Regions from separate parts of the Homo sapiens genome. Here regions 1, 2 and 4 are each linked to region 3. Evidence: promoter capture Hi-C in 16 types of primary human blood cells and fetal thymus (Javierre and others, 2016). All regions are on one chromosome and are shown on one strand. Each heading gives the region's core, a stretch centred on a gene start or on the middle of the fragment in contact. The rest is flanking DNA. Distances are from core to core; before and after follow the strand shown. Region 1 overlaps BFSP1 (beaded filament structural protein 1). Region 2 has its middle 18 kb from the start of DSTN. Region 3 holds the start of PET117 (PET117 cytochrome c oxidase chaperone). Region 4 overlaps BFSP1 (beaded filament structural protein 1).

Region 1 (2,920 bases), core at 56-2,555, 630 kb before region 3:
CTTCAGCTCTAGCTTAGCTGCTACATTGGGAAGCCACTAAAACCTTTAAAACCAGCAAAAACCCAGCCACAAACATTTGAAATGAGGCCCAAGCCTGGGACACAGGGGGACCAGGTGGAACATTCGCCCACTCCCTGGGACCCGCCCTTACCCTGTGGTTCTCAGTGTGGCTCCTGGACCAGCCGCAGCACCATCACAGGGACACCTAGACATGCAGCATCCCGGGCCACACCCCAGACCCACTGAGTCAGGAGCTCCCGGGCGCACCCAGCCACGTCTGGGTTTTCATCAGAGCTAAGGAGGCAGAATTTTGGCCCCCGTGACCTTTTCCCCTTGGTGCTACACCCTTGAATATGTTACATGGCAAAAAGGGACTTTGCAGATATAATTAAAGTTCTTAATCAGTTACCCTTTTTTAAGGAAAGGAGTTTATTCAAGATTATCCCCTAAAAACAGAAGTCAGAGAAACGTGTAAGTCCAAGTCATTGAGATGAGACGCAGGAAGAGGGTTCAGAGTTCGCTGCCGGCTCCGAACGTGGAGGGGCCTGAAGCCAAGGAGCCTGGGCAGCCCTGACAGCCACTCCTGGCCAGCAGCCGGCAAAGAAACAGGGTCCTCACTCCTGCCAAGAACTTGAATGAGACTGGAAGCAAATTCTCCCCTAACAGCCTCTGGACAAGGGCCCAGGCTGGCCAACATCTTTCTTTCTACCTTTTGAGACCCAGAGCAGAGAAACCGATAGGACCCACCCAGACTTCCCACCTACACAACTGCGATGACACGGGTGCTGGTGGTGACTCATCAAGGCAGCAACAGAAAATGGACACAGCCGTGTTTCATCAGCTACATGCTATAGCTTGTTACTGAGTGAGTATAAGCACATCTGTCATTTTATTTAAAATGATTCAGTAATATTTTGATAACTGTTTTAATATAATTAGTTTCTTTTTTTTTTTTTTTGGAAACGGGGTCTCATTCTGTTGCCCAGGCTGGAGTGCAGTGGCTCAGTCTCAGCTCACTGCAGCCTCAACCTCTCCAGGCTCAGGCAGTCCTCCCATGTCAGCTTCCTAAGTAGCTGGAACCACAGGCACGCACCACCACGCCCAGCTAATTTTTGTATTTTTTGTAGAGGTGGGGTTTCGTCATGTGGCCCAGGCTGGTCTCAAATTCCTGGACTCGAGCAGTCCACTCACCTTGCCCTCCCAAAGTGCTGGCATTACAGGCGTGAGCCACCACACCCAGCCTGGTTTCCTTTAAATTATCTGTATTTTATTTTATGCCTTTACCATCATTTTTCTGAGAAGCGGTCTCCATCAGAATGCCACGGGTGGGAGTGGAGGAGGCAGCACAGAAGAGATGTTTGAGACCCTGCTTTAGAGACGAGGGCAGCAGGGAAAAGCCAGGAAGTCCTCCTGCAGCCACTCAGGACAGAAACAGGCGGCCAACCAGCGGTTTCATTTCATGTTCTCAGAAACCAGGTTAATCTGTTGTGAAATTTCTTATTTTGATATTCAACAAATACCTGTACATAAAGAGAGGAACATTCTTTTTGTCCTGGAACTGGAATTTGCCATCTAGGCTGGGCTCCTTCATCTTTCTCAGTATCTCTAGGGCAGTGGTTTTCAACTTTATCACCACCGCCCCAGGAAAAACCACATTTCTCATTGCGAGCCATACACATCAGATAGGTAGGTGTGTGTGTGTGTGTGTGTGTGTGTGTGTGTGTATTTCAACATATCCATATGGATATAGAGAGATAAAACAAGGGCTTCACAAAACAAATCCTCCCTTTCACTTGCTGTACACTCTGTTTTTCTTATTATATTTTAGTCTAGCATTTTGTTGACTTCCTTTTACATGCCAGTCAATTCTACTGAGTTCATTTTACATCCAAAAATGAGTTGTCACTAGCCATTTGGAAAACACTGGTCTCTAGGACCACGACTGGGCTTGTATCCACGTCCCTATTCACATACACAGCACACACACATACACATGACACACACACACCACACACACTTCACATACACATCCCACATATATCACACATACCATGTATATCACACACACACACCCCATGTACACAAACACATACAACCCTTATTCTATCCTGTCAGAGCCTCAGAAGAAACCACACAGGCCCCAGTCACCAGGATGAGGCACATGGTCCCTGAGCCAGGGTTTGTCTCACAAGAAGGAGGAGTTTTAAGTGCCTTACTTGGTTCCTCCTGCTGCGATCGTCAGTTCAGGGGACCACCACAGACCCGGGTTTGCTTTCCAGCAGCCCCTGAGAGCTGCTGCACTGTGAGTTTTGTGTGGTGCGTGCTGGGATGGGAATTAGGATGTGAACTCCAAGGTCCCAAAATGAAATCCTGAGCAGACATGGGGGCACTGGAAATCAATAAAAAGCGCTACATCTAGTTGTGGCTTCACATTTTTAGACAGAGTAACACATAACATCCAAATGGTCCAGGCTTTCTGAAGTGTCCGATTTTTACACGTTTTGCTCTCTTGTCCCCATGTGTACTTGTCAAACCAAATGTCAACTTACTTTTTGGTTTGGGAAATGTGGTTAGAGAGCCATACAAAGGTGCAGTATTTTAACCCAAGCGTCCCTGTGGAATGACCTGCTGTAGGGTAATGAGAAAGAGAGAGAACCGGAAGGAACAAAGAAGATGAGCCGGCAAGTAGCCAAGAAGGCACAGGCCACAGGACAGTTTGGGGCTTTTCTGTTTTGTTTTCAAATTAAGCTTCACCCAAAAGGGGTGGGGGTAGAAATGTGAGCTTTCCACCAACACGTTTCTAACTAGAAGCAAACACTGATACAACCACTCTTGCCGGGTTGTAATCAAATTCCGAAGGAGAACTGTTACCATGAGAAGGAAAACAGAAGCACAGATTTGAACAAGTGGAGGATAAAAA
Region 2 (2,942 bases), core at 64-2,563, 590 kb before region 3:
AGAAATGTGCCTTGCCAGTTTTACGATGGAGTTGATTTTAAAATGGTGCCACTCTGGCTCTCCTATGCTCCTGCTTCCCTAACATGATGACATGCAGTCCAGAGGTAGGCAGTTCAGGGCGAGTGTGGTGGAGCCTTCAGTCCCAGGTTCATTCCAACTCTTCACTCTGCTGGCTTTAGTATGTGGCTTAGTGCCTGTATTAGGCCATACTTGCATTGCTATAAATACCTTAGACTGGGTAATTTATAAAGAAAAGAAGTTTAGTTGGCTCACGGTTCTGCAGGCTGTACAGGAAGCATGGCACCAGCATCTGCTCGGCTTCTGAGGAGGCCTCAGGGAGTTTTTACTCATGGTAGAAGGCAAAGGGGGAGCTGTCTGGTCACACAGTGAGAGTGGGAGGAAGGCAGAGAGGTGCCACACACTTTTAAATGACCAGATCTCTCAAGAGTTCACTCACTGTCACAAAGACAGCACCAGGGAGAAGGCGCTAAGCCGTTTATGAGTGATCCACACCCACGATCCAATCACCTCCCACCAGGCCCCTCTTCTAACATTGGGGATTACAATTCAACTTGAAATTTAGAGGTGACAACATCCAAACTATATCAGTGCTCAAGCTCACAGATGGCTGCTACCCTTAGGTATCACATCTGTACCTGAAATCACTTGTACATCTACACCACCAATCTTATTCATGTATTTATTCAACAAATATGTATTGACAACCTACCCTGTGCCAACACTCTTCTGGGCCTTGGGATACAGAAGTGAAAAAAATAAAATAAGGCTGGGTGTGACGGCTCACACCTGTAATCCCAGCACTTTGAGAGGCAGAGGCGGGTGGATCACCTGAGGTCAGGAGTTCAAGACCAGCCTGACCAACATGGTGAAACCTCGTCTCTACTAAAAATACAAAAACATTAGCTGGGCATGGTGGCGGGCACCTGTAATCCCAGCTATTCAGGAGGCTGAGGCAGGAGAATTGTTTGAACCCAGGAGGCAGAGGTTGCAGTGAGCCGAGATCACACCATTGCACTCCAGCCTAGGCGACAACAGCAAGACTCTCTCTCAAAAAGAAAAAAAAAGAAGAAAATAAAAATCCCTGATCCCTGTTCTTGTGGAGCTTATATTCAATTGGAGAAAACAGAAAGTAAATAAGATAAATAAGTGAAAAATAGAGTATAATAAGTGGTGATAAGTGTTACAGAGAAAAATAAAGAAAAGGGAACTGGGAGGATGGTGGGGCATCTGGTAATTTTAGACAGGGTGGTCAGAGAAGACCTCACTGAGGAGGTTACATCTGAGTAGAGAACGGAAGGAAGTGATGGGAAAGCCATTTGGATTCTTGAAGAAAGAGCGTTCTAAACATGGGGAAGAATAAATATAATAGGATGTGCCTGGTTTGTTCAAGGAAGGGTGCAGAGGCCATCATGGCAAGAGTGGGGCAGGTGAGGATAGAGTGCGGGTCAGATGAGGTCAGGAAGGGCAACGAGAGGACAGATCCCACGGGATTTCTACAAATCCTCCATAAGGATTTGGCTTCACTGTGAGAGTAAAGGGAAGCCTTTGATAATTTTGGCAAGGAAGTGGCATAAACTGACCTACAACTTAACAGCATGGCTTTCATGGCTGTGCTGAGAATAGCAGAAGCAGAGAGACCAGCCAAGAGACCATTGCAGTAATCCAGTTTAGAGGTGATGGTGAGTTAGACCAGGGTGATAGCAATGGAGGTAATGAGGAGTGATAGAATTCTATATATATTTTGAGGGTAGAACCAACAGAATGTACTGATGTGGGATGTGAAAGAGAAGAGACAAGGATAAAATCTGAAGCTGGAAGGATGAAATTGACATTTACAAGATGGGGAAGACTGGAAGTGAAGCAGATTTGGGGGAAAAATATCAAGATTTCTGTTTTAATTATGAGAAGTTGAGATGTCTATGAAACATCCAAGGGCAAGTGTTGAATAGACAGTTGCATCTACAAGTCAGAAATCTGGAGAGAGGTCAAGGACAGACATAAATTTGGGAACCAACAGCAGAGAGAAGATATTTAAAGTCATGAAACTGAATCAGAAAACTAAGGGAATTAGTGCAGAGAGTAAAGAGAAGAAGTCTAAGAACTTAGTATGCATGGGGACTCTGGAGATCAGCGGTTAGGAGATGAAGAGGAACCAGCAAAGGAGCCTGAAAAGGACCAGATAGGTAGGTGGAAAATCAGGAAGAGTGTGTGGGATTCCGGAAGCCAAGTAAGTAAAGTGTTTCAAAGTGAAGAGAAGATATGACTGACTATGTTGTATGAGATGAGGACTAAGAATTGGCCATTGGATTTAGCAATGTGACGTTCCATGGTCATATGAGTAAAAGCAGTTTCAGGAAAGTGGTGGGGAAGAAACTATGAGGATGAAATGCCAAACTCAACAAGAACAACTAAAATCCATGGAATAAAATTCACAGGGTAGACAAAAAAACAAAAACAAAAATCCTCAATGAAAGAACAATTACTTCAATCAACAACTTCAACAAATATTTAGTGTTTATCATCTATGTGCCAAGTGACATTCGAAAAATTCATTGGCAATTCAGTGATGAAGAAAACAAAGTACCTATACTTATGGAGCAGATATTCTATTAGGGTTAAAGAGACAGTAAACAACTAAACAAATATACAGTGTGTCAGTTGCTGATAAGTGCTTCAAAAATCATACAGAACAGAAAGAGGATAGACAGTGGAGGCAAGTGGGGTGGCAAACTACTTTAGATAAGGTGATCATCAAGGCCTTTCGGATTTATTAGTAGAGAGCTCATCTTATACCAGTTAGAATTGGGATCTTTGAAAAGACCTGTTAAAAATATATAAACATATATATATATATATATACACACACACACACACACACACACACACACATATATATATATACACATATATATACATATATA
Region 3 (2,700 bases), core at 68-2,567:
CTCACTGATTTACAGGGGAAAATATCTAGGATATACCACGAATAAAAAGAAGTCTAATATAATTTTTAAAGAGAAATATGCAAATACACCCTGAACTGAATTTCTTCTCAAAGTTCATTACAGCAAGAACTCCATTTTCCAATTCAGTGGTACATTCTCTCTAGGCTGCAAAAAATGCTGTGGACAAAATGACATTTGGAAAAGGTATCTTTAAAGATACCTTTAAGAGCAATAGTCCCCTTATGCCATTTACGCTCACATAAGAGACTGGAATAGCAAAGCACTATGAACAGTAATGAATGTTGTAAAACTCCCTGGTGAGGCTTAATCAATACTGCCTATAGCCGTGTCCACCGGAAGAAGCTCGTTCTCTGTGAATTCTAGTGGGAAAGAATGATTGAATGATGAACACGTTTTCACTGGTTGCTCTATCAGATACTTAAAAGTTTCTGGGAGGCCTTGCCTTTTTTACCCGAGGAAGAAGTGAAAATGCGTCTTGCACAATTGCTTAACTATTCCCAACGCAAGACTTCTTTATATCATTTATTTCCCTTGTATTACTGGCGCGGAAACTTGGGTGTAAAAGTGATCACAAAGATTACATGGGGCCAGGCGCGGTGGCTCACGCCTGTAATCCTCTCGGGAGGCTGAGGCAGGAGAATCGCTTGAATCCGGTAAGGTTGCAGTGAGCCGAGATCGCGCCACTGCACTCCAGCCTGGGCGATAGACAGAGACTCTGTATCAAAATTATAATAATAATAATAATAATAATCCGAGCCTGACCAGTCGCCCCACAGCGTCAAGGTGAAACCAGGTGACCGCGACTACAGCGTTTAATAATGGGTCCTCAGGCAAAAACTCCACGGATGGGAACCCCGCGCCTCTGAAGCTGCCTAACGAGGCGGTCTCCTGGTGGCGCCTGCCCCGCCAAAGGAGCAATGAGGGGGCTGCGTTTAGGCGAAGCCGGTATTGGGCGAAGCTTCTGGATCAGTCAGGGGCTCAGAAGGGACGTCTGTGGGAGAGGGGTCAGCACGGTATCCAGACCCCGCCCGGGGTGAGGTTGGTACTGAACTGACTGAGGGGCATGGAACCCCCACCCTCCACCCTGGTAAGGTGCCGGGGCCAGTTTGGGCCGGGACTCCTAGAATTTGAATCGGGGGTGGTCTAACGCTGTCGCCTGCGGGGTGTGCAGGAGGCCCCTAGTGAAGCCAAGAGTTCGTAGAGCCTGGGCGCCGCTCTATGCTCGGCTCTCGATTGCTCACGCCTGGCAGCGGCGAGCGGCGCACGCGACGGCTGGGGCTCTGCGCTCGAGGGGTCGAGCCTGGGCAGTACAGGCGGCGGTGCGCACTCTGCGGCGGCCTCTGCGCCTCGGGCGGGCGGGAGAGAGAGGCCGCGGCCGCCAGCGTGGGGATGTCTAGGAGCTCGAAGGTGGTGCTGGGCCTCTCGGTGCTGCTGACGGCGGCCACAGTGGCCGGCGTACATGTGAAGCAGCAGTGGGACCAGCAGGTCGGTGTCACGTGACCGTCTCTTCCGGGCCCGCGCGCGCGGCGTCGACCTGGGGCCTCTCGTGGTCTCTGCCCGCTCGGTTCCTCAGCTCCTCTTCGTGTCTTTCCCCCGCGGTGGCGCGGCCCTGCACCCCACGCGTTTGCGGCTGCGGCCGGCGGCCGCTCTGCTGGGCTCCGGGCGCTGCAGCTCCCGGCGGGCGTGTGCAGCCCGCAGATTCAGGACGACCCGGCTGCCCGGCTTAGCGCCTTTGGAGCTCCGCGCTGAAGGGGCCTTGCTCCGCACAGGCACGGCACGCAAGCTTTTGGGGTGCCCAGTGGCTCTGTTTTCAAGTCACAGCCGGCCCGCAGGGTGCGGACCTTTCCACATCTCACTTGGGCCGCTAGAAAATAGAAGGTGGGGAAGGAGTTTCTTGGGGTGCATTCTGCAAGCTACCAGCCTCCCTCCTGGCCCAAGGTTGGGGTTAAAGCCTAATGTGTTTTACGTGCTATTGATTTTATCCCATGGTAAGGGAGCCCCCCTTCCCCGTACTCACTCTCCATGCCTTTGACCAAGATAATTTGGTGAGATGTTTGCACTTCTCGTTTAAATGAACAGTTTGCTATGGAAACTAGAATCTGGGAACGATAGAGATAACAGTCTCCAGATTTTTTTTTTTGGTACTTTTATTTCAGGAAATATCCGTGACCTGCTGATCAGCAGTGACTATTCTGTCCTCTCAGTTCATATTTTCTTTCTTATTCAAGTTGACAGACCTTTAATGGGTGATTACTGTGTGGAAGCTACCTCACTAAGCACCTTGGGAATACAAAGATAAGGAAACTCCACTCTTCCAGAGTCTATCAGTGATTCACGACCTTGCTGAGAACAGGGTCATTGGTGAATTTTCAGAAAACAACTTGGCAGTGATTGGGGTTGAACCTAGTTCACCAAGGGTGAAAATAATGGACTGGATGAATCAAGAGTAAACAGTCTTTTCTTGATTTGCCTACCCAGACCTTTGGACTGTGCTATGTGCTTGATATACAGAGATGAAGTGGATGAGGTCTTTGTTCTTGGTGTTCACAGACTGTGGAAATTAGAAGAGAGGAAGCATGTGATGGTACAAGAATTTTGACGAGGGGTTGAGATGACTTAACAATGAAAGGGCACAGGAGAGATCAGAGATTTGGGATTAAAATGTGCTCCTAAGGGGCT
Region 4 (2,891 bases), core at 7-2,506, 610 kb before region 3:
CAAGCTGGTGTCTGTCACATCAAGTGCTCTGTAGTAATAACAGTGATCAGGGATTCAGCACCACCAGGTGATGGGCAAGTCATATACATTATTACATCATTTAGTTCTCACTAGGCACTTTCACTCCTATGGTGGGTGGGGAGTATTGTGATTCCATTTCACAGATGAAAAAACCGAGGCTCAGAGGGACAAGGCAATTGGCCCACAGTCTCACAGATGCTCAGCTGTAGCAGGAGGTTCCTAGTCACAGGCTACACTCCTCGCTGGGGCTCTGCAGCTCACCTGCGGGCAGTACTGTCTTACTTGGACCCAGGGGCCAGTCATGCTAATTGCCTGTGCTGGTCTCACCCACATTCTTGGTAGCATCTTTCCCCAGAACCTTCATAATATTCTTACAGGGCTGATACTTCAAATGTCCACACTCTATGTCACAATATACATGAAGGTGTATTATGCGATGCCTTTTCCTTATTTTTCGTTATCTATGTTGCCTTATTTTTTCTACTGAGAATATGGATTGCTTTTGTAAAAAGAGAAAAACAACAGAAAGTTTAAGCTTGTTTTTTAAATTCACTGTCATTTTCCATCAAGGGTAAAAGAGGAACCCCATTCTTTCTCCCCTTTATTTGAAGAGTACCCAGGATGGCACTGCGTGAGTGACAAGTGAGGACAGATGCTCACAAAGCAACATGTGGAAGTGTTGGGGAGAGGGCCTCGGAGGGCCTGAGGGGTGCTGTGAAGGGTGCTGGGTCCCCGTGTCTGAAGGCCATGTTCTGGCAGTCTGAGGTTGCACAAAACAGAAGAATGGGGATGAGCTACAGGTGTCAGCAGAATAGCAGAGTGATGTCAGACACTAATAAGGCCCAACTCCCAGCTCAGATGTCCAACAGGCTCGAGGCCATCGTTTTCCAAGCCAACTATTGAGCGTGTGTCCTCAGGGCCTTCCTGAAGTGCATTCTCACTGCCATCTCTGTGTTTCTATCTAGGGTGCCCAAGTGTCCTACTAGCTGTCCTGAGAGTCCCAGCCTGCATTGACTGACCTGTGTTATTACAAACTGCACCCTCTTTTGCACACTGTCCTGGTTTGAACATATCATACGTGCTCACGCGCAGAGGGGCAGGTAACATAGACAAAGCAAAATTGGGTTTCCCCTAGATTCTAGTTCTGATTTTCCCCTCAACCAGCAGAGTAATCCTAGACAGCAAAGGCTGGACAAAGTGAAGGGATGGCAAACATCCGGCGCTAACCCTGACTGTCCAAAGAGGCTGCTTGGAGTTCCATGTGGCAAAGAAGCCTAAAGCATACCTGGGCATGGCAGGGAAGAGTCTGCGGTTTTGTCAGCAATTTTGATGAGTTGTAGGCATGGAAGGGGCGGGGAAGGGCAGCCCATGTGCCCTAATCAAGCAGCCTTTCCACTAAATAGTCTCCATGGGTCGTTCTGCTCTGACATTGGAGCTCAAAAACGATCAGAAAAGGGCCATGCTTAAAGCTATGTGCCATCCCTGGTTCTGTACAACCCTGGTGGTCCAGAATCATTCTGCTTTTTGGTGGTGGGATTCTCCCAGCAAAAGCAGAAAATCCAATCAGTTAGTTAGAATCATGATGAAGAATCCCAAGAAGGAAATCACCACTGTTCTGTAAAGAGCAACTCCACATAACCCTGCAGGAAAGTCAAGTGGCTAAGAACCCCTGGCATCTCCCCTGGGGCTATTGGTCACGCTATAAGAGGGAACTCTAGAGGAAATAGAAATTTCTTCCTCTGTTATCTTGAGACTTCTGTGGAGCCGCAATCTCAAAACTCTTAGCCAATAGGACAGAGGTATCACTGTGTCCAAATAACCACTGCCCAAAGCAAGGTCCTTCCTAAATTTGGTGTTGGGCATCAGTATGTCTGACAAGTAAAACAGCAGCTTGTCACTGTAACGCCGGCAGGTTTTGCTAGCCTAGCATAACCAACAAGCTTCATAGTCTGTGTTTCTCTCGTGAGAGAGGGGTGTGTGTATGGGTGTGTGAGTTCACTCATAAAGACTCAATTGAAATTAACAAGTCAAGAGACAGAGTGACTGCAAAAGAAGTAGTGACCGCCAAAGTAACACAAAGAGGAAGCCTGTAAAACCTGCACTTCCACCATTCCATTCAACACTGTAATTAAGCTACGTAAACCCAAGGATGTGTTCCGCTCACCTTGTTAAGCCGTTCAAGCATTTCTTTTAGCAGGAGTTGACATTCGCACTCATTTTCATACCTGCAAATTGGACACATAAGTGAGAGTTGGGTAACTACCATGCTTTCACATGTATGGATCACATAATCAGCATTAAATTCAACCTGGGTACGATGCCCTCTCCTTTAAGGAGAGGGTCTTAATTTTAAAGTAGTAGCTAACGAATGCTGCATTTCCTAGCTGACTGCCTCCCAATCAGAAAGTGGTACCATTTGCACACCGCGTGGGGTAACCAGGGGCAGTTAGCGGAATAGGAGTCTCCCAGCCCGAAGGCACCAACCCCAGCCCCTACAGCCTTATTCCCAGCCACCCCAAGGATGAGGGAATTATATCCTAGCCTATCTATAACCCAAGTGCAGCAGTGGCAGAGATGGGAGACTGCCCTGCACAATCTACACCACCATTAACCTGACCGTACTTGGATTTCCTATAGTATTTTATTTGCTGACACATGTAATTTGTCAGTTTTTCTGGATTATGTCATTTAATCCTTACATCACCCCAGAAGAAAGCAGTTATTGTTAGTGCTGCATTAAAGATGAGGAAACTCAGGCAGATGCTCCGCACACTTTTCCCTCCTCCCAGCAGCATCACTCCCCACACAGCGATGGCCTCCTCTGGGCAAATGGGTGGGGCAGGCTGGACGTGCCAGGGAGTCAGGGCCTC

The links. Contacts are between HindIII fragments. The CHiCAGO score rates a contact against its expected background, and 5 or more counts as called.
Region 1: a fragment that was not itself captured here is called in contact with the fragment with the promoter of PET117 in region 3 in 7 of 17 cell types (activated CD4 T cells, total B cells, monocytes and 4 more); the score reaches 9.6 in activated CD4 T cells.
Region 2: a fragment that was not itself captured here is called in contact with the fragment with the promoter of PET117 in region 3 in 1 of 17 cell types (activated CD4 T cells); the score reaches 6.3 in activated CD4 T cells.
Region 4: a fragment that was not itself captured here is called in contact with the fragment with the promoter of PET117 in region 3 in 1 of 17 cell types (total B cells); the score reaches 5.7 in total B cells.

What each region holds. Positions count from the first base shown.
Region 1 is chr20:17,505,583-17,508,502 of GRCh38, forward strand. The region is part of intron 5 of BFSP1 (beaded filament structural protein 1); the gene reads right to left. Among named protein-coding and RNA genes, the nearest start is that of BFSP1, 24 kb to the right of the region's middle. The HindIII fragment of the contact is 2,881 bases long and covers 1-2,746 here.
Region 2 is chr20:17,550,916-17,553,857 of GRCh38, forward strand. It overlaps a transcript of BFSP1 not described here. Among named protein-coding and RNA genes, the nearest start is that of DSTN, 18 kb to the right of the region's middle. The HindIII fragment of the contact is 3,996 bases long and covers 1-2,942 here.
Region 3 is chr20:18,136,546-18,139,245 of GRCh38, forward strand. PET117 (PET117 cytochrome c oxidase chaperone) reads left to right here and starts at 1,318. Exons shown (of 2, transcript NM_001164811.2): 1 at 1,318-1,506. The coding sequence starts at 1,411. KAT14 (lysine acetyltransferase 14) reads left to right here and starts at 1,318. Exons shown (of 11, transcript NM_001392073.1): 1 at 1,318-1,506. RefSeq lists a silencer at 1,687-1,806. The HindIII fragment of the contact is 825 bases long and covers 978-1,802 here.
Region 4 is chr20:17,522,663-17,525,553 of GRCh38, forward strand. It overlaps BFSP1 (beaded filament structural protein 1), which reads right to left. Exons shown (of 8, transcript NM_001195.5): 2 at 2,186-2,246. Among named protein-coding and RNA genes, the nearest start is that of BFSP1, 7.3 kb to the right of the region's middle. The HindIII fragment of the contact is 1,405 bases long and covers 555-1,959 here.